Linked DNA regions of Homo sapiens: all the other regions are linked to region 2. The links are contacts of gene promoters, found by promoter capture Hi-C in blood cells and fetal thymus (Javierre and others, 2016). All regions are on one chromosome and are shown on one strand. Each heading gives the region's core, a stretch centred on a gene start or on the middle of the fragment in contact. The rest is flanking DNA. Distances are from core to core; before and after follow the strand shown. Region 1 overlaps LINC02102 (long intergenic non-protein coding RNA 2102). Region 2 holds the start of FASTKD3 (FAST kinase domains 3). Region 3 overlaps SRD5A1 (steroid 5 alpha-reductase 1). Region 4 overlaps LOC124900934 (a long non-coding RNA gene). Region 5 has its middle 12 kb from the start of MED10. Region 6 overlaps TENT4A (terminal nucleotidyltransferase 4A). Region 7 overlaps TENT4A (terminal nucleotidyltransferase 4A).

Region 1 (3,396 bases), core at 605-3,104, 1.2 Mb after region 2:
TGTAACAATTGTGAAAATTACTGTGGTGATTGTGAAAATGAATAATAGGGCTTTTCTTATTGCCTTGAATTACGTTAGCTCTTCCACTTTTTAATTTTCACCCTTTTGCTCAGCATCCCCGGTGGACTAGAGGCTTTGTCCCAGCAGAAGCGTTGCCACCCCCCCGGAATCTGAGCCCTTCACTGGACCCAGCTCCGTGGCCTGCAGACAGGAAGCCCCCAGTGAACACATGCTGGCGTGGTGTGAATTCACCCCCCTGCCTCTCCACTCCTTTGTGCTTCCCAGGAGGGGCAATGCAACAGGCATTGCAACAGGCATCCCCAGCATCACAGGGCAGAAATGCTCCACAAAAGTCTCAAACTAAACTGAGAGAGACATTATTCACTTCCAAGTGCTTCAAACAGCAAAAGAGTAAGGCGGAGGACAAGAAAAGTATTGACGACTGGTAAATATTTAAGGAGTAACCGAGTCAATGCCAAGCATGCTGAGCTCTGAGCCAAACCACATTCAGGAAGAGATCAACGTAGAGCACAAAAGACTTAGGTTTTCACATTTGCTTGAAAATGTAAGCAGTTACTAAGTAAAAATTAAAAGATGATTGGCTAGGTGTGGTGGCTCATTCCAGCACTTTGAGAGGCCGAAGCGGGAGGATCACTTGAGGCCAGGAAGTTGAGACAGCCTGGGCAATATAGCAAAACCCTGTCTCTACAAAACATTTTTAAAAATTAGCCAGGCACGGTAGTGTGCACCTGTAATCCCAGCTACTGGGGAGGATGGCCTGAGCCTGGGAGATGAAGGCTGCAGTGAGCTGCGTTTGCACCACTGCACTCCAGCCTGGGTGACAGAGTGAGACCTTATCTCAAAAGGAAAAAAAAAAAATTGAAAAGGGTTGCTTTATTAGGAAAGTCATATTCATGGCCCTAAAACCTTCAAAGAAATTGTCACGTATGGTACAAGAAGATATATTCAATTTGCTTTGTCTTCCTCTTCAGGTCAATCACATAATCTTTGTAAAATTCACTTCCATTCCTTTTGAATGGGACTTGTGCTTCTCAACTGGAATGATACTTTTCATCATAAAGTTAGAGAGGGATCTTGGCTAACTTTTTTTTCCAGAGAAGCGGACTCTTTTCAGGACAAAGCACTCAGCATATTTTAGAGACACAGATCATAGCATGTGTTTGCCAGAAGGCACACAGCTATTGGAGGGAGATGGGAGAAATTTCACCTCTTTCTTTTACACTAATTCCTAAGGAGGAGTTTGTGAAGATTGGAGTGTCATAAGAAATACATGCATAAATGCTGTAATTATATTATTAGTTAAAGGCTTAACTAGTAAGACAGATGAATCCATTTCAAGTCTAAACAATAAAATGACAAACCATAAAGGTGGTTCTCAAATTACTTCATGGGGGAGATAGAAAGCTGTGTTCTGAAAGTATTGTATTTGCAAAATGCCTGAAGCAAACAAAACATGCTGCTGAGGGAATTCATTTCCAGAATTCAAATTTTTGAAACAGCTATGAACAGTTATTGCCAACACTAGCACATTATTTATATCCTGCTAGCTTAGAAGTTTTTAAAAACTAGATAAGTTTAATTTCAAATTGTAACTTCTTAGGACTGAAAGTCTCCTGATGTCTAAAATGTGACCTATAATTTCATGGGAGAAAAAAATGATATTTATGGTAAATGTAAAGCCCATTACTGGATAAATCTTCTAAATATGTAAGTTTTTTATGCAAGAAAGATGTGAAGACAAAAAAATTTCCAACTAGTGGATCATGAGACATAAAGCAGTGGTTCAGTGGGTTAGTATAATATTTTAGGAATAATGACCAACCACTGTGAAGGGGAAAAATATTCATAGAGTACTTTTTCTGACTGTGAGTCATGCTTAGAATTTCCTTACCCAATCAAATACATATATTCACCATCTGCCTTTACATTTCACATTTAAAGCGTTAATTCAGGCTAGGTGCAGTGGCTCATGCCTGTAATCTCAGCACTTTGGGAGGCTGAGGCAGGAGGATCACTTGAGTCCAGGAGTTCAAGACCAGCCTGGGCAACATAGCGAGACTGCGTCTTTACAAAATAAAAATTAAAAAATTAGCCAGATGTGGTGGCATGCACTTGTAGTTCCAGCTGTTCCAGAGGCTGAAGTGGGAGATTGCTTGAGGAGTTTGAGACTGCAGTGAACTATGATCACACTGCTGTACTCCAGCCTGGGCAATAGAGCGAGACCTTGTCTCTAGAGGAAAAAAAGCAAAACAAAACTTTAATGCATTTTGAATTTATTTTGTGTAAGACATAAGATAGGAAATTTATTTTTTTCTAAATGATAATGCATTCCAATATACTATTTCTCCAGTTATTGAGATTATGATATCATAAATTCTTACAGAAACTTGAGTACATTTCTAAAGTTTCTATTGAGTTCCAGTGATTGGTCTATTTATTTGTTGACGAAAAAAATATTGTTTTGCTTATTAGACTGTAAATTGATGTTTACTATCTAGTAAGAGGATACTTCTCCTCCAAAATTAAATGTTATTTTACTGAAAAAATCTTGTATATTCAAGCAAATGTATTGTTCTAGATAAATCAGGACAATTTTGGTAAGTTCAAGAACAAAACCCCAACGGAGTTCTATAAATTTAAATGTATTATATTACATTTTTAGATTCTATAAATGGAATTTATCAACTTGTGCTAAATACATAGAAGAATTAATACAGGAAGTCCTAGCCAGAGCAATCAGGCAAAAGAAAGAAACAAAAAGACATTCCGATTGGAAAAGAGGAAATCAAAACTATCTGTTTGTTGGTGATATAATTATATACCTAGAAAACCCTAAAGACTCCTAGATCTCATAAATAAACTCAGTAAACTCTCAGGTTATAAAATCAGTGTAGGGAAATCCATAGCAATGCTATACAACAACAATGACCAAGCTGAGAATGAAATTAAGAACTCAATTCCTTTTACAATAACCACAAAAAAGCTAGGAATATACTTAACCACAAAGGTGAAATATGTCTACAAGGAGAACTACAAAATACTGCTAAAAGAAATAATAGATGGTACAAATAAATAGAAGTACATCGCATGCTTATAGATTAGAAAAATCAATATTGTGAAAATGGCCATACCGCCCAAAGCAATCTACAGATTCCATGCAATTCCTATTAATATACCAACATCATTTTTCATAGAATTAGAAAAACAATCCTAAAATTCACATGAAACTAAAAAAGAGCCTGAATATCCAAAACAATGCTAAATGAAAAGAGCAAATTTGGAGGCGTCATATTACCTGAGTTCAAATTATACAACAAGGGCTGTAGTAACCAAAACAGCATGTTATTGGTATAAAAGTAGATACATAGACCCATG
Region 2 (3,489 bases), core at 1-2,500:
TTGGTTCTTATTTGATCCTAACGCTAAACAAACTAATCATAGTACTAAAGGTAACTGAAGCACATACTCTCCTTCATTATTTAATGCAAATCAAAAATATGTGAGTGTATGGGCATATATACAAACGGGTGCATATAACGAAAAAATATTTCCAATCCACTTAAACATTTTACTAACACGTTTTTCCGCAAGAGATAAGCAGTAGTAAAACAAACGACACTCACAGATTTTTTTCCATACTCATCTAACGGCTAAAATTGGTGGGCTGTCAATTTGCAGAGACAGATTTAAACTGAAACCCAAACCAAAAGCTTGGCTTTCGGTGAATGAACCGCCCAGAACGGCACCTGGCATGAAACTGGTACTCGATAAGTTATCTGAATGAGTGAATAAACAATATGAAAACACTACACATTGACAGCTCACAGAAAACGGTGGAAACGATAATGAAAACCTTACTACAGCTAAAATTTCTATCACTTCCCATGAAACACACATCCTGAGGGCTTCCCAGGATCAATCAACCCCTCATCCCTGCTACTGCCCCACAATCCGGCACCACCTTCCCACGACTCTCAGCGGAGGCCCGGGCCCCAGCAGCCCCGGAAGCGGCGCGGAGGCGGTGGGCAGAGCTCACGGCCGCGGGCAGAACTCACGGCCGCGTCCCGCCGGGTGGGCGCTCGGAACGTCCCGGGTTCCCCGGAGCGCGCCGCCCCAACCCGGCATGTTCCCCAGTTCCCCGCGTCCCCGAGTGCGGTTTCCCTAGGCCTGGAAAGCGCCTAGAACCAAAGGCAGAACATGAGGAGAGACCCCACGCCGCCCAGGGGCCTCCCGCGGCAGAGGCCGACGCCGAGCCCAAGGACACGCTCCCGGGGACACCAAAGCCAAAGGCCAAAGGCCAAGTCCGAGCCCCAGCCCGCGCCCGCGGCGACCCCCGGAGGCCGAAGGGCGTGGGAACCACGGGCGCAAGCCGGCTGCCCACCCCCGCCCCGGGCCGCCTCTCCCAGGAGATTAGTGCAGGGCGAGCGGCCGGAATCCGGGAACCGTAGCCGACAGGCAGCTTACCCACGCCGCGCCAGCCGGGCACGAACCTGCACAACGCGACTTCCACCAACCTTGCGCCAGCGCGCACTGACGCAGCGCCCATGCTCGGTACCCAGGACCAATAGAAAGCTCCGAAGGGGACCTGGGCCAATCACATTGCGCCGCCCTGAGTCGTGCTCCCGCCCCGCGTTTGCTACGGAGGCCCACGACGCCCAGGCGCTTCCGCGACCACCCGGAGTGATTGCCCGGCAGAGCGCGGTAGGTGTCAACGCGGGGTCTCCGCGCAGTTGGTCCGGCTGGGTGTCAAAGACCTGGCCGGCTTTCTCCTCAGGCTGCGCCGCCCGGCCCGTGTCTCAGCGCAGGTCCCCGGGGCGCCGAGTTTGGGGGTGCTCGCCCCGCGGGTCCCTTTCATTCCTAGGAAAACGCGCCGCGGGGCCTCCCGTCTGTCTGTCTTGCACACACGTGTTGCCAAATCCCCCCGCACCGTCTTTAGATCTGGACTGGCCGCCCCACCTTCTCCCTTCATTGATCTATGTTTTGCTTTTTCTTTTCCTACCTTGTTTCCATTGACAAAGTAGACCCTTTCCTTCAACACTAACCTTCTCCCGACACCGAGGGGAAACCAACAGCTTAGGGCCTTTCCAGCGCGTTTTTACCCTTGCCTTGCTCTAACCTCGCCTAATTTTGCCCACTTTACCTGTTCTTTGATTTCTATCCAAATGCAATTTCTTCCTTCAACCAACATTTAAGGGCCACCCTTAAGAGCTACATTGCCTGAGTTTGAACCCTAGCTCTGCCACTTAACCACCTGCATAAACTGGGCAAAGTAACTTTGTGCTTCAACTTCTTCCTCGTGTAAAATGATAGTAAAAGTACTGAATCTGTGTAAGTTAATAGAATACCTACAACAGTGTTTAGCAAGTAATAGCGATTGTTATTGTTCAATGTCAGCCACTCTTCTAACTCTAGGATGCAGAGACTTTGCCCCTCTGGTGTTTATATGTTAACCATCCTTTTTTTTTTTTTTTTTTTTTTTCCAGATACTCGTTTGTAGTTTCATAAACATTGATGTTGGGTCAATCATGTTCTCAATGTATTTAACCATGTGTTTTTAAATTTTTTAATTTAGTTATCAAATTGAGAATCTGATGGTATGGCATTAATCACCTTGAGGAAGAACCTTTATCGTTTATCTGATTTTCAGATGCATAGAGCTCTGGCTGCTTTAAAAAATAAACCTCTAAATCATGTTCACAAGGTAGTCAAGGAGCGTCTGTGCCCTTGGTTGTGTTCACGACAACCTGAGCCTTTCGGGGTCAAATTCCATCATGCCCATTGTAAAAAGTTTCATTCGAAAAATGGAAATGACCTTCATCCACTCGGTGGACCAGTGTTCTCTCAAGTATCTGACTGCGACAGGCTTGAACAAAATGTTAAAAATGAGGAGAGTCAGATGTTTTACAGGAGACTGAGCAACTTGACTTCATCAGAAGAAGTGCTAAGTTTTATAAGCACGATGGAAACCCTGCCTGACACTATGGCAGCAGGAGCTTTACAACGAATTTGTGAAGTGGAAAAAAAGGATGGTGATCAAGGGCTGCCAAAAGAAATACTGGAGAATAGCATCTTTCAAGCTTTATGCTTTCAGTTTGAAAAGGAGCCCTCACAGCTGTCAAACACTAGTTTAGTGACTGCTTTGCAAGCTCTGATTCTGTTGCATGTGGATCCTCAAAGTAGCCTGTTGCTGAACCTGGTGGCAGAATGCCAAAATCGTCTCAGAAAAGGTGGCATGGAAGTTCGCAATCTTTGTATTCTTGGGGAAAGTCTGATTACACTGCACAGTTCAGGTTGTGTGACACTAGAACTCATTATAAATCAACTTCAAGGTGAAAAATTGGAAACATTTACCCCGGAGGATATTGTGGCCCTTTATAGAATCTTGCAGGCATGTACTGAAAAAGTGGATGAACACCAAACATTTTTAAATAAGATAAACAACTTTTCCCTATCAATAGTTTCCAACCTGAGTCCTAAATTGATTAGCCAAATGCTCACTGCCCTGGTGGTTCTTGATCAAAGTCAAGCATTTCCTCTGATTATAAAATTGGGCAAATATGTCGTGAGGCATGTCCCACATTTCACTAACGAGGAGCTTAGGAGAGTCTTGGAGGCGTTCATATATTTTGGGCACCATGACACATTTTTTACAAAAGCCCTAGAGCATCGTGTAGCTGCGGTGTGCCTCACGTTGGATCCTGAAGTTGTCTGCAGGGTCATGGAGTACTGCAGTAGAGAACTGATTCTTTCAAAACCCATCCTCAATGCAGTGGCAGAAACTTTTGTTTGCCAAACAGAAAAATTTTCACCTCGTCAGATTTCTGCCTTAATGGAACCATTTGGGAAACTCAATTATTTGCCACCAAATGCCTCTGCTTTATTTAGAAA
Region 3 (3,602 bases), core at 691-3,190, 1.2 Mb after region 2:
CTGCCACTTCTATCACACTACCATCACGTCTGGAGCTGGCTTTGCTGATTCCAGGTTCTCAGGGTCACAGTTTAAGTAATTTGAGGTTTGTAGCATTGTTTGTTTTTGTTGCTATTCTCATATGGTTTCTAGGAACATAAGTGGAAGAATTTCAAACTAAGTGATGTCACGCCCTTTCTCCATTAAAGTTTTAGATTTATGTACTTTAAAAAATTTTTTCTGAAGCTCTATTGGTTTCTAGTCCTTTTATGGTACATTGCTTCTTACTCCTAATTGTAATCTACTCCTTTTAAAAAGCATTTCAAGTACTCACTTTATAATGTTTCCATTAATTCTAACATCTGAAATCTTTCATGTTGAATTACGCTCTCCCTCATGGTGCTGTACTTCCTTGTGGGTTCTGTACCTTGTGACCGTGCCTCTTACTCTGTGGAACGTGGCACATTGGGTTCTTTGAGACTCAGGTTGAATGCACATCCCCTTGGGGATCTGGGCTTTTGCTGGCCAGGAGAGTCCACCACTACCCCAGGCCACGGAAATTAATTTATGGCTTGAGATTTTTCATACTATACAAGTAGTGCGAATCTGGGTTATAAACCAGCATGGTGGTCGGCGCCTCATCACAAATTCTCAAAAGACACGCTCCAGATTCCAACATTCACCTAGATCTTGTCCTCTGATGATTAGTTCCTTTCTTGATAGTATACTGATGCGTTTAAGAAGATTTTCAAAATATTCCAATGTTTTAAACTGTTTTCAGAGGAGGGTCAAAGTATCTATTCCATTATACTGCTAGAAACAAAAGTGTCAGACACTCCTCGTCAATCATAAATTCTTCCTCATCCTCTCTTCCCAAGCACAGATATAACTGGAGTTTCTGCTTTGTTTAATAACTGTTCAGTTAGCTAGATTTGGGTCTTTTGTTATTCTAATAAGACAATAACAATAGCACTTGTTATTAATAATGATGACTTACACTGAAAACTTGTAGCTAATAACTACTACGCTACTACTTCTTAGAGCTGGCAACACTAAAATAGCCAGGAACCATGGCAAGCAACTTTCACAGAAATTCTTCACTTTCTGTACGTACCCCTTGGTATTTTGTATCCAGTATCTCCTGGTTTTCTGAGATTCCTTAGGATATGATCTGAATGGATGTTTATCAACATGCCCGTTAACCACAAGCCAAAACCTAAAGGAAAAAAATTGCAAGATGATTATGGCTAATAAACCGTAAAATTTCACTACGAGCCCCAGCCTGACTGAACAGTATTATTGCAACCCTTCAGATTACCATTGTTAGTGTAACATATTAGCCATAACTGGTAGTAAAAACCATTAAGGACTGTTGTCAGGTATGCCAAGCAGGGCTTTGTTTTCCTAATAATACAAATACATCATCTAATGTACTCAAAATACTTTGACCTGTTCATCACAATCTACATCTTCAGGATGACAAGTATGGACAGAAATCTGACTTGGGCACACGGCTCCTTTCCAGGGAGCATCAGGGAGTCAGCCCACCAGACAGACGCATCCCACTTATTTCTCACAAAATCTGCATGAGGCAATGCTGCCATCTCCACCACATGAACCAGGAGGGGTGATGCTCCTGTGCTGCTCTGTCACCACTGGCTGTACGTCACCCCTTGAAGGGTGGCAGTTCCTAGGAGTAGATCTCTGGTCTTCTCTTATTTACAACCTCATTTAAACAAATTAATGCGCATCTATGTTTCCCCCACAGCAGAATTCCTGCAGGCTCATCAATCAGCATTGCTCGGTCAGTCCTTCCTCCTCGGTTCTTGACAAGAGTCTCCCGTGGCCGCCTGCATGGTTCTCCCCAGAATCCCACGGTATCCCCAGTTTTCTCTCCTATTCTTACGAATCCGCAGGGATTTTTCATCACTTAAAGGAGAGTTGTTAGTATCACATCAATTAATTCCATCAAGAAAAGGCAAAAGGCCAAAACAGTGTTTTATAAAAGAAATATTGATAAAAAGAGGTTAACTTGATGGTTCTGATATACTTTTTTAAAATGGGAAAGACAGATGCTGCTTAGTGCTGGCATTCAGTTCAATATTAAATCAATGTACACGTGGGGCATCATTATTATCTGAGTCATCACCAGTGACATTGAATACTTTTTCACAGTTAGAAAAAGGACATGGAAAACCTTCTGGTCTATAGCAAGGGTTTCAAGATTTCTTCCTTCTGATTTTGCCACTGTAATCAGCTTTTATTTTTTTTTCCTAAGCAAAGCAGTTCATACCAAGTTTTATAATACGTTTTGTAAGTCATTTATTGGATCCATACATTTATAGTTGATTTGCTACCTTTTTGGGATTTTAGTATTTCACCCCTAGGTAATTTGGCTTCCAATATGAGATTCTAGAAAGGAATCATGTTGTCTAAATAACATGGTTACTTTATGTTTCTTCCAGGAGACAAGCTCCCTTTATTGCTTAGATTGGAAGAAAACTAGTACTTGTGTTCATCTAAGCTAAATATTTAATTCCATTTATAAGATCTTAAAATCTGGCTGGGCATAGTGGCTCACACCTATAATCCCAGCACTTTGGGAGGCCAAGGTGGGTGGATCACTTCAGGCCAGGGGTTCAAGACCAGCCTGGCCAACATGGTGAAACCCCATCTCTACTGAAAATACAAAAATTAACCAGGTAAGATGGCGCAAGCCTGTAATCCCAGCTACTCTGAGGTTGAGGCACAAGAATTGCTTGAGCCTGGGAGGCACACGTTGCCATGAGCCAAGATCACGCCACTGCACTCCAGCCTGGATGACAGGCTGCCTCAAGAAAAAACAAACAAACAAACAAAAAAAAAACTTAAAATCTTTCTATAAAATATTTTAGATTAACCACTTTTGCTGTTTTGAAAAACCTTTTGTTAGAAATTTGCTGGGCATGGTGGCTCACACCTGTAATCCCACCACTTTGGGAGGCTGAGGCGGGTGAATCACCTGAGGTCAGGAGTCCAAGACCAGTCTGGCCAACATGATGAAACCCTGTCTTTACTAAAAAAAATAAAAAAAATTAGTTGGGCATAGTGGCATGCACCTATAGTCCCAGCTACTCGGGAGGCTGAGGCAGGAGAATCTCTTGAACTCAGGAGGCAGAGGTTGCAGTGAGCCGAGATTGCACCTCTGCACTCCAGCCTGGGCGATAGAGAAACTCCATCTCAAAAAAAAAAATATATTATTATTATTTGCTTATTACTTCATGGTAACTACAGTAGGCATAATTACTTATTTATGTAATTTCACGTCTGTTTCCTCACAAAAACAATAAACTCTAGGCAATAAATATAACACACAAAAGGTAACCTAGATTGTCTTCCACTTGGCATATTTTTTCCTTTTCAAATCCTTCTGTTTAATTGTAGAGAAGTCAAGAGGTCTGTCTACAATTGATTGGTGTTTGGAATCTCTGACCAGCTTCACAGTCACCTCTACGTGATGCGAACCATCTGCGGAGCTACTTTAAACAGGAGGGTTCTTCTGTTGTTGTTCACCATAGAGGTGAGTCCCATGAGACTCTCTGGCAAACATTTAAAATCTGTATCTTTAGTTAAAAAGAAAAAAA
Region 4 (3,425 bases), core at 599-3,098, 1.2 Mb after region 2:
TAAGAATCTACGTTTTATTCCCATGTGACTTAATAAAGCATTTTCATTATGAATAAAAATGTGAACTGCATAAACATTTGTATTTTATTTGAATTGGTTCTTAAGGGGGGGATAGGGTGTTGTTTTTCACTGCTTTATACAAATGTAAGGCATAGAATCATTCTCTTAAAAAATTAAAACAAAACATTTCATTAATTATTTACTTACTTGCCTAAAAATGTCTTTATGACCAACAAATGGAACAGCTTTTGCACTTCAAAGTAAAATCTTCACTTTCACAAATCACCAGCAGCGCAGCAGAGCCAGCCATGGGAGGCAGACGAGGCACGAGACTTCCCAGAGCCTGTCGATCCCCGTCACTTCTGTCTGTCCTGGAGTCTGAGCCCTAGCGTCACCCCTCTAGCCCCGACCCTCTAGCCCAATTCCTCTAGTCCCGCCCTTCTATCTCCACCTCTCTAGCCCCGCCCCTCTAGCCCCGCCCCTCTGGCCCCACCGCTCTAGCTCCACCTCTGTAGTCCCACTGCTCTAACCCCACACTTCTAGCCTCACTTGTCTAACCCCACCCCAAACCCACCCCTCTAGCTCCAGCCACTCTGGCCCCATCCTCTAGCCCACTCATCTAGCACCACTCCTCTAGCCCCATCCCTGTACCCCCACCCCTAACCTGACCCTTCTTGCCCTACTCCTCTAGCTGCACCCCTGTAGCTCCACTGCTTGGCCCCTGCTCCTCTGAGGCTGCCCTGCTCCTGTGAGGGATTTGAGCAACCCCTTGAATTTGGCTTCTAGGCTTTCAGTAGCTCCCACCCACTTGCTACTTGATTTTGGACTTTTCATGTTGAAAGTTAAACAAGCTTATTTCCCCACTGTGGTAGTAGCCAGCTTTTGTTGACTACACACACACACACCCCCCACACACACACACGATACACACTGCACATACACACACACCACGCACAGATACACACACACCCCACACAGATACACCACACAGACATACATACCACATACACACACATACACACACACACACACACACCACACACACATACCACATACACACCACACATACAGATGCACACACTGCACAGGTACACAGATACACAGCACATGTACACACATACATACACAAACCACACATATACACACACATATAGTGACACACAAACACATACACCACAGATATAGTCACACACCACCACACACACCAACTCTGTTATGGATGGAACTGTGTGCCCAAGTTCCTATATTGAAGCCCTGCACCCAGTGTAACTGTATTTACAGATGGAAGCATTAAGGAGGCCCTCAGGGTTAAACAAGGCCATGAAGGTGGGGCCCTCATCTAATAGGACTGGTGTCCTTCAGGAAGAGGAGAAGACACCAGACCCCACTCTTTCTCTGAGCACACAGAGGAAAGGCTATGGTGAGGATGCAGTGAGAAGGTGCCATACACAGGCCAGGAAGAGAGACCTCACCAGAAACCAACCCTGCTGGAACCTTGATCTTGGACCCCCAGCCTCCAGAACTGTGAGAAAATACATTTCAGTTGTGTCAGCTACCCAGTGTGTGATTTTGTTATTGCAGCCTGAGCTAATATAGTATCGAAAGTTCCTTCCTGATCATCGAATTCAACCTGCATAATTCCAGCCATATAGAGGGTTGGTATAACATTTTCCAGGATGTCAGAGTAATCAAGTTCCCCACAGCCTAGGTTATGGCAGAGTGAAAAAAGGTGAACACGACTCTGAGGCGGGACTGTGAAGGTGTATTGTTGGCCCTGCTGGGTAAGCGCAAACCCCTTTGCATACAGTACTTGCAAATTGGAAAAGAAATTGAAAGCATTTGTCAGATCAATAGCTGCCTATCAAATACCAGGAGCTGTGATAATATTTTCCAATAAACGTGGAAGAGCAGCTGCTTTTGGATTCACTGCCTAATTAAATTTATGGTAATCCACAGCCCATACCTTCTGAAAAAGCTGAATAGGTAAGCTAAATGGGGACGTAATAGTCTTTCAAGTTACTCAAAGAGAGTAACCTGGTCAAAGTTTACTGCAGAAATACTGCCAGTGCCACCATTCTTATATCTTTGAGGGTCATGCCAATCTCTGCAGTCTACTCAGGAATATGGTATTACTTTGGGTTTATTGTCCTAGAAGGAAGGAAAAGTTCCAGGAATTCTACCTGCTGTTTCCTCCCATACTAGCTCTTATTCCAAGCATCAGAGAAGCAACGTGTGTAGTCTTTCCATTTCTGATGGCATGTATTCCACCTAATCTTGGCAGGCACTGGAAAATAACAGCAAAGTGGACCCATGGCCAACTGGACCCACTGTGGAGCTTAGGCAAAAACTCCATTTATCATTTAAACAACATAAGCCTTCCCTTTCACTAGTGAAGCTCACTGTTATCATTATTCCCACAAATTAGCATCAATTCAGAGCCATCATCTAGCAATTCTCCAAATTCTGAGAATTTCCTTTTCTCCACTGCACATTTGTCCTACTGAATGGACACTGGTCCTTTGGAGAGTGCTTGGAGAAAGACTGACAGAATAAATACGTGGCAGCATTGCAGGGTCTTTAGTTGTATACCTAGTAGTTCAGTAACAGTACTGTCTTCCCCCTTGGACTCCAAGATCCGTCAACACAGAGGTATGTCTGCTCAGCTCACTCTGAGATTCTCAGAACCTAGCACAGACCCAGACACAGAGGGGGCTTGTGAATAATTTCTGAATGAATGAAGCAGGGATGAGCTGAGGGAAAGAAAGCGACACGATGCTGGGCCCTATGCACACAGGTTTGGGATCAAAACTCCAGCTGCTCATAAAGTGTCCTGTACTCAAGCTTGTGCATCTGTCTCCCTCAGGCTCCCCAGCGCATGACAGCTTCATAGAACCAGGTTCCAGGTGTTCAGAATTCTGAGTGTTGACCATCTCAATCTTTTTGTGGGCAGAGACAGCCTCTTTTTTCCTACTTACCTCACTGTAAGTACTTACCTCTCCATCTCTGGATTTAGCCATGGCTCAGCTCCAAGGATGATTCTGGACTGAACACATAAAGGATGGGAGAAGCACCAGCCCAATCTCTGAGCCTGAGTGTCAAGTCACCCCTGCCACTTGCTTGAGTCTGACTCATGCCCTCTATGTGTGCGTGGACATCTGGGTGCCCTGGAGTTGGAGGCTTTGCCCTAACAACCTGTGTGGTCCCTTGATGGCTAGGATCCTCTTGGTCACCTTCATCTCCCTATTCGTCTTACCAGGTCCTTCTCCTCATCTCTTGCCGGGGGTCTTTTGGTGGAGTTCCCTGATAGCTATTTAGATTTTCAGTTGGATCCCATGCTTTGCATTTTATTTTTTTATTGTTTTATTTTTATTTTGTAATAGTTTTAGATGATCAGAGAAAAGTTTCAAAATAGTACAGAGTTCCCA
Region 5 (3,678 bases), core at 955-3,454, 1.5 Mb after region 2:
CCGAAAAACACCCCCTCACCTTTCCTAATGATGCCTGGGTGAGTGGCCATCCCCGTGAAGAGCCGTTCCGCTCAGTGTTGCAAAGGTAAAGGGTGAGGAAGGATCTGGGCAGCAGGGACAGAATGCCTTTGTTTGGCCATGCTGCTGTTAGAGTACCATAGGGATTTGATGGCCAGGGGACACCTCAGAAGCCTCAATAGGTACAGTATTGGGTTTTCAGGTAAACTAACACTAGAAGAGTTATTTATGCAATCAGCCAATCATTCAGTAACCATGTACCGAGTACCTTCACTGTGCTAATCAATGAAGAACAAAAAGAGAAATGACAGTCCCTATCCTAGAGACACCTCCAAGGGAGACATCCAAACAGATACTGATATGACAACATGACACTTTATATAAGGGTGACTACCAACATTGAGTGCTTGATGGGGGCCAGACACAGCACTCAGTACTTCACTCGCATCACCCCCAAGAACCTGAGAAAACAAATGGCACCCGAGTGGTAGATGTGGGAGCCGTGATGCAAAGCCAGGTGCATTCGTGCAAAGCTAAGATGCTGTAACAGAGACCTCAAATGTCATCACAGTAGCTAACAAATGGGGATGCCATATTCTAAGTGTTTTACATTTATTACTTCATTTGATTCTCACAACAAACCCAGGTGATACGTGGACTCAGTGTCCCCAGTGCAGTGAGGAGAATTCTGGGGCACACGGAAATGAAGTCATTTGCCCAAGGCCATACAGTTATTAAGTGGTAGGGCTAGGATTTGAACTCAAAAGGTGAGCCCCAAGTCCCTGATATACCCATTATGTCATACTATTGATACTATCTTCCTAACTGTCCTAAAACATTGCCTTGTTTTTCTCTCACTCAACTGTTCTGAGATAAGTAATCCATTTAGGTGGAGAATCTCTGCTCCACTGGGCATTCTAAGATCCATGTTCCTTCCAAACCATTGCTCCTCCATCCTCAGGGGCTCTACTGGCTGATACAGTTGCCGCTGGTGACATGTGACTATTTTAATTTTAATTAATTTAAATACATTTAAAGACAATTGAAATTTCAGTTCCTAGTTGCACTAGCCATAGCTCAAGTGTCTAGTGGCTCGCGTGTTGGACAGCACAGATCTCAAAACACTTCTATTATCTCAGAGTGTTCCACTGCTCTGGGGTACTGTCACCTGCCTGGTGGGACCAATCACCAGCACATCAGGGACAGCCTGAAGAAGATGCACCTGATGCCTCATGTTCCCACCCCGAGCAGATACCCATCATTCCTGCTCCCATCCCTTAGTGCAAAGGCCACAGCTCACTTCAGGGAAGCCTGGGTGTGTTAGTCTGTTCTCACACTGCTATAAGGACATACCTGAGACTGGGCAATTTATAAGGGAAAGAGGTTTAATTGACTCGCAGTTCCACAGGTCTGGGGAGGCCTTGGGAAACTTATAATCATGGCAGAAGGGGACACAAATACATCCTTCTTCACAAGACAGCAGGAGAGAGAAGAATGAGAATCGAGTGATGGGGGAAGCCCCTTATAAAACCATCAGATCTCATGAGAACTTACCATCATGAGAATAGCATGGGGAAAACTGCCCCCATGATTCAATTACCTCCCACCGAGTCCCTCTCATGACACGTGGGGATTATGGGAACTACAATCCAAGATGAGAATGGTGGGAAGACACAGCCAAACCATACCAACGGGAAACACAGACAGTGGGTAGCAATGGGTCTGGCTTCAATTCCATTTCTATGGCAGAAGGGCAGAGCAGGTTTCATTGGGATGCAGGCAGTAACCACTAAACGCATTCTGTCTAAAGGTGGAGACGGTTCTCAGCCTCTAGCAGATTCTCTACCTCTGAGGAGGGAACAGGGCCCAGATGTGTCAGAGCTGACCAGGAAGCTATTAATTCTGCCTGAGGCAGTAAGCAAAAGCTTCACCAACATGCTGACATTTATTTCAGATTTCCCCAAGTAAAGCAGAAGGTATGGAAGAAGACTTTAAAGCAGAGAAAAGAAACCAGCAAAGGCAAAGAGGCGGGATTGGTGAGGGTCCCATGAGGCTGTAGGGCACTGGTCAGTGGGAAGGTGGTATCAGATCAGGTGGTAAGGATTTAGAACTTGTTCTGAGGACCAGCGATTCTCAAAGGAGAAATGAGGGCTGCAGAGCAGCTTCCTGGAGGTCGACTCTTTTCACACTACTTGTCTCACCCCTCCGAGAATCCTTTCCCTCTGCCAGGGGCACATGCACCCACTCCTCTCCTCCTGCCTCACCCAGAGAATTGGGGTAATAGAGTGAGTACATGGTCATGGGGATGGGGCTATGCAGAGAGAGGATTTTAACATCCCTGGTGTAGACAGCGGGGTGATGTCAGGAGGTTTTAGGTTGAGGAATGACATCATCAAATACATTTTTGGAAGAAGGAGCCAGTATACAGCACAAAAAGGAAAGCTTGGCTTTGCACATTTTGGGTAGAAACTGATAGAAGGAAGCCACGTTTACCAAATGCCTTCTACATTCCAGGTGCCATGCGAGATGCTCCACACATCAATAGGCACATTTCTTCTATTTCCAGGAGGAGAAATCTGATGTAAGTGAATCCAGCAGGGATCTGTTCACTGGGTGCAGCGAAGTCAAAGACTGATGTTGGGATAGTAGCAAGAGAAAGTGAGGCGTTTATGTAGGGCCCCAAGCAAGGAAAATCAGGCATCCCATGTTCAAGACCCAACTCCCAGATGGCTCATAGGTGAGGGTTTTTACCAACGTGGAGGCAGAGGTTACAAGTAAAGTCATAAATTCAAATATGGAGACTATACGTTGGTTTGACCTAAAAACGTAGGACAACTGGAAGTTGGGGGCCCACAGGTTATAGGTGGATTTAAAGATTTCTGATCTGTGATTGGCTAAGGAGGCAAAGCTTTGTCTAAAAATGTGGGATCAGCAGAAAACAATGTTATTAGGTTGGTGCAAAATTGCACGTTTTGCCACTGAAAGTAACAGCAAAAAAAAAAAAAAAAAAAACCTGCAATTACTTTTGCACCAAACTGATAGCTCTAACTTGTGGGTGTGACGTTCCCAGGCCCCTTAGGAAGAAATTTAGAACAAAGAACAGTGACCAGAGTTTAGTTTTTAGTTTCCCTTAATTTGAGGTCTATGTGTTAGCAAATCTGTTTGGTGGGGGTTCAGGTTTTTGAAAAATAACTCAGGGACATATGTTAAGGTGTTATTTTCAGTTTTTATAGGGAATAACATATCTCTTGACTAACTTTTTTGGCTACTGTTTTAAGCTACTATTATCTTTTTGTTTATTCAGTTATTTTTCAGTGTGAGCTAGGTGCCTGGAATTTTTCCTGAAGGAACTTAAGAGTTTTCTTTATTTCTTCACTGGGCAGGGGGTGACCTGCAGGCCCCTAGGAGGAGTCCCTGCTCCATCTCACTGAAGACCAAGACAATTCTAGAAATGGGCCAAAGTCATATACCAAAGAAGTACTGGGGCTGCGTCCCTTCCTGGCCATACCTGAGCTCCACTTTAGACAGCCAGGGGGACATAAGAAATGCCATTTGGGGTCACTGAGGGCTCAGTGTGGTCATGAGCTCCTTGGTGGGAAAGTACAATGGCTCTAGTTTCTTTTTTTTTTTTTTTTTTTTTTTGAGACGGAGTCTCGCTCT
Region 6 (3,757 bases), core at 10-2,509, 1.1 Mb after region 2:
AGTGGCTCCTATCTGCAAACGCGGTAGAGGACAGTGGATGCCAGGTCAAGGTGGCACGGCACAAGTCACAGACAGAGGACACTGTAGGATGCCCTGCAGGACCACAGGACTGAGCTGACCAGAGGCAACGCAGGGGGCGTCGCCTCAAAGAAACTCACCAGAAGCATGAACCACATTAGGAACTTAGAAATCTCAGGCAGCAGTCCCGGGAAGCCTCCTGATGATGAGCATGAGGTCTGTGGAATATGCTGCAAATCGTGGTTTCCCAGGCAGAGACGAGACTGCAGACCCTTCAGGAGCCTGAAGTGCCTGAGGTCAGATCGCGTCCCAAGTACAACACAGGGACGCAGCTCCCCCTACATGGTGCTGTCATGAAGACTTAATAAATCCACACTGGCAAGTGCTTAGCACAGGGCCTGGCCCTCGGTAAGGGTTCGGTGCAACAGTGGTCATAACTACAAACAAACTACAGAGGTTGAAAATTCACGGACACAAACACCACCACTGGGCACCAGAGGAGGGAGAAACAAAGGCTGAGCCTCCAACCTACACAGCCCAAGCAAACCAAGACTTCATCAAAGCTTTTACTCTGACGTTGCTGCACTTAGCCACTTAAGGTTTTCATCATGTTTTATGCTCTTAGTCTCAGCAGTATCTCTTAGAAACTAGTATTTCCAACTGAAGTTGGACACCTTTCCCTTTCAAGCAAAATTAATAATTTGGCAAATTTATGTAAAGATAAGACTTTTAATAAAAGTATTTCTACTGACCAATCCATGTGTCCATCTACACGAGCCTAGAGAGAGAGGTCCTACAGTGGCAGCCACCTGCTTGTGCTTCTGGGTGGTGGGACTGAGTGACTTTAGAGCTTTCTGCTTTAAAAAACAAACCACGGATCAGTTTTACAAAAACAATGTCATTATGTTTTAGTTAGTTAGCACGAAGCACTCTTAGAAACAACCTCTAGCTTTGAAGCAATCAGCAAATGGCAGTGTAAGATGGCACACACAGCAGGTGGTCCGCAGCCTCTCTACAACTGGTGATGACAGCACCAGGTCCTCCTGTTTGGTTGACAGAAGTCACCCTCAGAATCCTCTTGGGAAAATCAGGGCACTAGCTGTCCATCTCTGGAGTCTCTGAATCATGTGGAGACTGGGCAGGCCCTCAGACAGCATCGGCATCTCTCCTGAGAAGACAGACATCACTTCTCTGGAACTCAGCATAATTGTTTTCTTTTTTTTTTCTTTTTTTGAGACGGAGTCTCGCTCTGTCACGCAGGCTGGAGTGCAGTAGTGTGATCTCGGCTCACTGCAACCTCCGCCTCCTGGATTCAAGAGATTCTCCTGCCTCAGCCTCCCAAGTAGCTGGGACTACAGGTGCGTGCCATCACGCCCGGATAATTTTTTGTATTTTTAGTAGAGATGGGGTTTTACTGTGTTAGCCAGGATGGTCTCGATCTCCTGAACTTGTGATCCGCCCTCCTTGGCCTCCCAAAGTGCTGGGATTACAGGCGTGAGCCATTGCACCCAGCCTGTTTTCCTCTTTATTAGCTTATCTCTTTGGACAATTCTCGCTTTGCTCTACATTTCCAGTGGCTAAAGAGACAGGCTACGGAGTGAGACTACCTGGACTCCAATGCCTGCTTTACACCTACCAGCTGTGTGACCCCAGGCCAGCTGTGCCGAGAACAGCCTCTCCCAGGAGGGTGGCAGGAGACACTGTATAAAGGGTGAGGGCTCAGTCAGGCCAGTGGTGATTACTACTGTGGCTAGGACTGTACACCACTCACCTGATGGCAGCAGAGGAAAAGCTGAGGTCCCCACCTATTAAGGGAGGCTCTGTGAACAGCAAGTCATCTTCCCCAACCACAGGCCTTGTTATTTTATTCTAAAACCAATCCTAAAACGCGCTTTTTACTCAACGAGTCTGCAAGCTTCAGTTCATTCCATGCTTTCATCTCCCTGAATAGTTCCCATAGATTCCTACCCTTTAGAGTGTGGTCTCGGTGCTCTATCCTTCCACCTGTCACACTCGTCCTTCAGCATGAACATCAGTCTCTTGTGAGTCAGAACCACAAACTCTAGATAGATTCACCTTTTGCTTTCTTCCATGAGGTAACTCATAATGACACTTTAGAATTCCTTTGCATTTCACAGGACATGCAAGGTATCCTTTTCTATATTTTTGGCCATCATTTCATCGTTGTCCTTCCATTTTTTAATAATGTTTTACATAAGTTTAGAGACGATGCCTATAACCAAAATACACTTTACTGTGTTGCGTCACTGGCCCATCTCTGCCCATTCACAGAGGTCTTGCGTGGCTCTTCACTCCAACATACCAGTGCCCTCTCTGTGGGGGAGGTGGGAAGAAGCCCAGGCTTGCATACCATGCAGACCTGCATCTGGGCACCAGTGCCTTTATTTTCTAGTAGCGCCTTGGGCAAGACGCTTGAATCACTTAATGCTTAATTTTTCTCTCTTCAAAATGAGTTATAGTCCAGGATTGCGAGACTGCAGGTCAAGCCCCCAGTGCAGCAGTGCTGACTGAGGCAGCTGCGCTGCCAGTCCTGCCTTGTCTTTCAACTGCCGTCAGATGAAACAGCGAGTAAACAGCTCATCAGATGCTCCACTCTTCATAGAATGCAACTTCTAAGAATACTCCAGGTGACAGAAATCCCGCTTCCACACTGCAGCCTCCCTCCAGGCCAGTTCTGGAACACCTCAAGAAAGCACGAACCTGAGCGTACTACTGCGCAGGACTGGCTTCCCTATGAAATCCTCAACACTCCGCAACCCCACAGCTATCAACTTTGTCCTGCGGTGGCTGTCAAAGCACCCCACCACATCTGAATCTAATCTCTTTAGGAAAACAAAGCAAAAGGCCCTGCACCAACATATTTGAACCATGTTTGTAGAATGAGTTGCTAGGTTCCATCCCCCGCATGTTAGCGACGTCTTGTTCACTGAACACTGTTAGGAGTAAAGTGCCCAGATGTCAGCCGTGAATTCACATTTCCAACTGCAGCACCTCTTGCCAGGTCACGTCAGACTGTCAAGGCTTCAGTTTTCTGTCTACAAAACAGGAGTAATATCACTCATTTCAAGGGTCAGCTCTGGGAACTAAAGGAGCAAACTCGTGCAGAGAGCTAAGCCAAAAGAGCCCCACACACGAGCCACAATGGTGCTCGTGACCAGGAAGACTGTTGAGAGAAGGAAGTGACCGTCTGCACCATCATTAACCTGCGTGCAAAAATGCTGAGACCTATCACCTGCATGCTGGACTGGAGACACTCCAGGTCATAACAGTTGCTCCATGTTGCTCTGTGCTGCGCTCTGCTATGAACCTATTTTATGCTTCATGTGCTATTAAAACAGCGGCTTTTTGAAAAGGATTTGCATTGGAAACTCAAACAATTTCTAGAGCTTTCACAGTGATAACTTGCTGAGTAACACAGCTTTTACTGTTGTATGAGTTTCAATTTATTTCAGCAACAGTTACTGAATCAAACACTGTTTCAAATAGAGCCTAAAGTTACTGCAGTTCAGAGCTGTCTAAATACATGGCCATTTAAATTTTAATTAAAAGTAAATAAAATTAAAATTCAGCTCCTCAGTTGCATTTGTCACATTTCAAGTGCTCAAAAGTCACATATGGCCAGTGGCTACTGTATTAGTGCAAAAATAGAATTATTCCATCTCCACAGGAAGTTCTACTGGACAGTGCTGTTCTAGTTGCCTACTTAATGTTCCCTGGC
Region 7 (3,852 bases), core at 535-3,034, 1.1 Mb after region 2:
AGTCTGAGAAAGCTCTCTTGTAAATCCTTTTCTCATATGTGGTACTCAACTTTATTCTGAGACAAATTTTTTTCAATATAAATCACAGACAAGCACCAAGAAATGTTTATTGTTTACCATGAAATGGACATTTCTGAATACAGAGAATTCCCTGAGCTTGGACTGATGTGCACTGGACTCACAGAACCAGACGGGCACCCCTGCACCAACAGTTACACCCAGTACAAAATGAGCATCCAGAAAGGTGCATTAATCAAGAGGGTTTGATTGTAAGAATCAGAAATCAGCCTCTACCAAATTGAAACAATACAGTAAAAGGAGAGCAAAGGCTGCTGGAACCCACTAGGCAACTGGTTGGAAGAGTCTACTCTTACACATGTCTCAACAGAAACAGTCTCAAGAAAGCATACATACCTGTAGAAAGCTAATGGCCATTAAAATTAGGCTGTATGAGCTAATTCCACCTGTAAAAACTTCATTCAGGTCCCTCTGCAGAAGGAACTGTTTCAATACTAAAATCAAGTAAGGCAGCAATGAATATTTCTGTAAATTCCAAAAGAAAAAGATTTACTGAGTAATTACCATACTTTCAAAGAGATTTCACATAGCAAATCACACAAGACAGAAAGGAAAGTTTCCTCGATCCTCTTGCCCATCTGAAGGCTCTCAGTCATTAAGTCTCAAACTTTGGTTGGGGGACGCTAAGAATTAATTTCCTGAGGGGCTTGTGAAAATCGAGACTGTGGAGCTCTCCCTGGGTTACGACTCAGCAGGGGTGCACCCCTACCATGACGAGTCCACAGGCACAAAGGAACTCAGGAAGAGACCAGCGCGTTCACTGGAGTGTTTATGTGCTTGCTACACAGGCCATGAGGACAGTGGGGGCCTCCGGAGCAGGAGAGCAGAGTGAGGCTGGCAAGGAAGGCAGAGCGGCAGGAGATGGCAGGAGGGAGGGAAAGCCTGGCTGCTGCTGTTCGTGTTGCGCTTGGGGTGGACATGCTCCCTCAGACCAGATGACAAGGGGGAAGGGGGAACCTGAAGAGCAAGGCCCTTGAAAATGGAACAAGATGGGACCAGATTGCAGGGGTGGATTTGCCCCTGCTAAGGATTGCAACAGCCTCTACTGCAACAGGAGGTCACGACCACCCGGAGGTGCGTCTGCCCCTGCTAAGGACTGCACGGCCTCTACTGTAACAGGAGGTCATGACCACCCGTTTAAGACCAGGCACATGGTCAGAGTCCCAAACATGTCAGCTCAACCAAGTCTCTCTGCCCATCCTCAGGCACTGAGACCTCCCAAAGTGAGTATATTTAAGGCACCTCATGATTTATCAACTTCCACCTGGGTAAAACCTGCGAATGAGGCACACTGAGCTAGAAGCAAAGTCTGTAATAACTAGAAAGAACATTTTAACAAAGCTCTCTAAAATAATTGTCAACTTTATAAAATGGTTACTCAGGAAAAGCAAATTTTAAAAACAGCTATGTAATTTCAAAGTATCTCTAGAAATAATATTGTAGGAGAAATAATGTAAGTGTAGTCTGTGTTACGAAAGACTTGTGTGTGCAGCTGACAGCTGTAAACATCGTAGGATGCCACCAAGCACAAGCACTCCAGTCCTGCACTCTCGCCGCGCTGGGTCACCAAGCACAGTACCTTCATGTAATTCTTGATGAACTCCGCTGCCCGGACGCCCGTCTCCATGTTAAAGCTGATGTCAACTTTCACTTCAGTCTCCTGATCTGTGAGCTTTATTATTGGTACCTGTAAAGATTTCATTTTAAAAACTGCTTTAACATGCAGGACTCTCCACAGCCAGGCATCAAAATGCTGCCAAAGCTGTACAGAGGTTTGGTGTTTTTTCTTAGTAATGAAAGGGGGTCAGAGAACACTGTCAGCATCAGTAGTCCCTGAACCCAGGACGACTCCCAGGCCCCAGCCCCTCACAGCAGGACCCACATTCTGCCCAGCCCCTGTAGCCCTGGATCAGCACCAGAGGTGACCAAGCATCAAAGAGACGTGAGGGGAGGGAGCCAACAGGGAACAGGAGTTAGTCTCTGCCACGCCCACCCTATGTGCTGGGATGGAGAGAGGTGCTTGGCCCCAGACTTTTATTTGGCAGAATTTTTGAAATCATTTAATGTAACTTCGAAGCCATTTTTTAAATTGTATGTTATACTGATATTGTTTCTCTACTTTGGGTTTTCACTCTTTAAGACAACTTTACTAAAAAAATTTTTCCCCTAAAAAATTCAGCAAATAAAAGGCTATTTTAGAAATATTCTCACCAACAAGAACTGTCACCGAATGGCATTCAAAATCTGCCTGAGCAACTGTCCAGACCACACTCATGCCCCACCCTCCACCCCACCAGTAAAACTGAATTCTTCCAGAAGAAAAGGCAATGTTTTGTTTCCTTCAGCCTTGAAGGATTAAAAAAAGGAATTCCTTTAACCAAAACAATCAGTGTCTAACGAAAAGTTCAAATGCCAGTGATAGGCAACGTAGGGACAGTGCATTCAGTACACACCTATTCTGGGCTTTAATGTCTACACTTGAGGGCAACCAACCAAGGACTCAGCGTGTGAGGACATGCCAGTGGGGCCAGAGTCACCTGGACACCACTGCGACCACCAGGCAGGGTAAGCCCTGAGGCCAGTATGTTCTTAAGAAGGCAGAGAAAGAAATACTTTCCCAAAGAACTCATCAGAAACTGCTTTGGAAGAAGCCAACACTCAATGGCTATGCCTCCCTGACACCCACAGTTTAGGAAGCAGCTTCCTTTCCATCTCATAGACTCCTTCCCACAATCACTCCTGGCACTCTCCTGCCCTACTCTTGCACACACTCACTCACGGCAGGAACCCCAAATCCTGGAGGTGAGGAGTTAACACTGTAACACAGTTTTGGGTTGTTGTTCCAAATAGACAAGATTTCACCTTAAACTCAGCCCTCGCCCTGGGTCTCTTGTGCCCATGACTGGCCGGCTGCACAGTGCTCCCCAGAAATGAGCAGTGGCAGGCTCCAGGCTCTCCCTACAGTCTACACTGGCCCTCAGGTAACAGAGGAAAAGATACTTAGTAGCCAATATGCGACAGTAACGAGGTCACTGGGACTAAGCAGTTACTGTAACTGCTCAACCTACTGTGTGGCCTCAGGACAGCCGCGCCTTAGTTCCTCTACTCCAAAGGTGGTCGCCTGGTCAGGATTCCCACCCACCTCCCCGCTGCCCCTTGGCACACACAGAGGAGCAGCAGACAACAGCGGCCTGGACTATGCCGCTGACCCACCTTGGGCTAATGACCTCACCTCTCCGCATCTCAGTTTCCTCACCTGTAAAATGTGAACAGCAACAGCATCTGCTGATGAGAGTGGCTGGGAGAGCTAAGTGCAATAAGGCCCGTAAGCATTTGAGAAAGTGGCCGGCCAGGGCTTGTCTCGTGCTAATGAGAAGAGCCAACAGCCCCTTCTGGAACCTGGGCCTGGAGGGAACCTCTGGTGCTGCCTGCTCGCTCTGGTCCACATGACAGTGACATGAGCATGTGCACTTCGTTAACTCTCACCAAGAGGTGCACCTGGTACATGTGCACTTTTCAGTGCATATATCATGTTTTAAAACTTGCCCCCAGCCTCAATCAAAAGCACCTGACAATGAGAAACATGTGAATGCCCCCTCCCCTATCACCACACAGGCAGGAGGAAGCTCCTGCCTTAACTTACATTCTGCTAAACACTATAAGGATGTGAATCACACACAAGTTGACACACAAATTTAAAAATGAAATGCTAGCCGGTCGCACAGGTGAGCTAAGAACTGTCATACAACAGGCAAGTACCTCATAGTCCCTGGG

Evidence for each region. Contacts are between HindIII fragments. The CHiCAGO score rates a contact against its expected background, and 5 or more counts as called.
Region 1: a fragment that was not itself captured here is called in contact with the fragment with the promoter of FASTKD3 in region 2 in 2 of 17 cell types (total CD8 T cells and M0 macrophages); the score reaches 6.9 in total CD8 T cells.
Region 3: a fragment that was not itself captured here is called in contact with the fragment with the promoter of FASTKD3 in region 2 in 1 of 17 cell types (monocytes); the score reaches 8.8 in monocytes.
Region 4: a contact is called between a fragment that was not itself captured here and the fragment with the promoter of FASTKD3 in region 2, in 1 of 17 cell types (naive CD8 T cells). The highest score is 7.5, in naive CD8 T cells.
Region 5: a fragment that was not itself captured here is called in contact with the fragment with the promoter of FASTKD3 in region 2 in 5 of 17 cell types (activated CD4 T cells, naive CD8 T cells, naive CD4 T cells and 2 more); the score reaches 10.4 in activated CD4 T cells.
Region 6: a fragment that was not itself captured here is called in contact with the fragment with the promoter of FASTKD3 in region 2 in 11 of 17 cell types (total CD4 T cells, total CD8 T cells, non-activated CD4 T cells and 8 more); the score reaches 12.9 in total CD4 T cells.
Region 7: a fragment that was not itself captured here is called in contact with the fragment with the promoter of FASTKD3 in region 2 in 14 of 17 cell types (total CD4 T cells, M2 macrophages, non-activated CD4 T cells and 11 more); the score reaches 25.3 in total CD4 T cells.

The regions. Positions count from the first base shown.
Region 1 is chr5:6,697,362-6,700,757 of GRCh38, reverse strand. All of the region lies in intron 2 of LINC02102 (long intergenic non-protein coding RNA 2102), which reads left to right. Among named protein-coding and RNA genes, the nearest start is that of LINC02102, 8.7 kb to the left of the region's middle. The HindIII fragment of the contact is 3,804 bases long and covers 1-3,396 here.
Region 2 is chr5:7,866,792-7,870,280 of GRCh38, reverse strand. It overlaps FASTKD3 (FAST kinase domains 3), which reads left to right and starts at 1,250. Exons shown (of 7, transcript NM_024091.4): 1 at 1,250-1,302; 2 at 2,085-3,489. The coding sequence starts at 2,198. MTRR (5-methyltetrahydrofolate-homocysteine methyltransferase reductase) reads right to left here and starts at 1,133. Exons shown (of 15, transcript NM_002454.3): 1 at 1,066-1,133. RefSeq lists silencers at 631-680, 741-790, 801-1,240. The HindIII fragment of the contact is 2,367 bases long and covers 314-2,680 here.
Region 3 is chr5:6,653,671-6,657,272 of GRCh38, reverse strand. It overlaps SRD5A1 (steroid 5 alpha-reductase 1), which reads right to left. Exons shown (of 5, transcript NM_001047.4): 3 at 1,094-1,195. Among named protein-coding and RNA genes, the nearest start is that of SRD5A1, 22 kb to the right of the region's middle. The HindIII fragment of the contact is 6,478 bases long and covers 1-3,602 here.
Region 4 is chr5:6,679,461-6,682,885 of GRCh38, reverse strand. LOC124900934 (a long non-coding RNA gene) reads left to right here. Exons shown (of 2, transcript XR_007058680.1): 2 at 1-70. Among named protein-coding and RNA genes, the nearest start is that of LINC02102, 27 kb to the left of the region's middle. The HindIII fragment of the contact is 1,990 bases long and covers 854-2,843 here.
Region 5 is chr5:6,388,865-6,392,542 of GRCh38, reverse strand. No RefSeq gene overlaps it. Among named protein-coding and RNA genes, the nearest start is that of MED10, 12 kb to the right of the region's middle. The HindIII fragment of the contact is 517 bases long and covers 1,946-2,462 here.
Region 6 is chr5:6,722,815-6,726,571 of GRCh38, reverse strand. The region is part of intron 1 of TENT4A (terminal nucleotidyltransferase 4A); the gene reads right to left. Among named protein-coding and RNA genes, the nearest start is that of TENT4A, 11 kb to the right of the region's middle. RefSeq lists an enhancer at 1-460. The HindIII fragment of the contact is 1,352 bases long and covers 584-1,935 here.
Region 7 is chr5:6,740,403-6,744,254 of GRCh38, reverse strand. It overlaps TENT4A (terminal nucleotidyltransferase 4A), which reads right to left. Exons shown (of 13, transcript NM_006999.6): 5 at 1,658-1,765; 6 at 415-543. Among named protein-coding and RNA genes, the nearest start is that of TENT4A, 29 kb to the right of the region's middle. The HindIII fragment of the contact is 6,472 bases long and covers 1-3,852 here.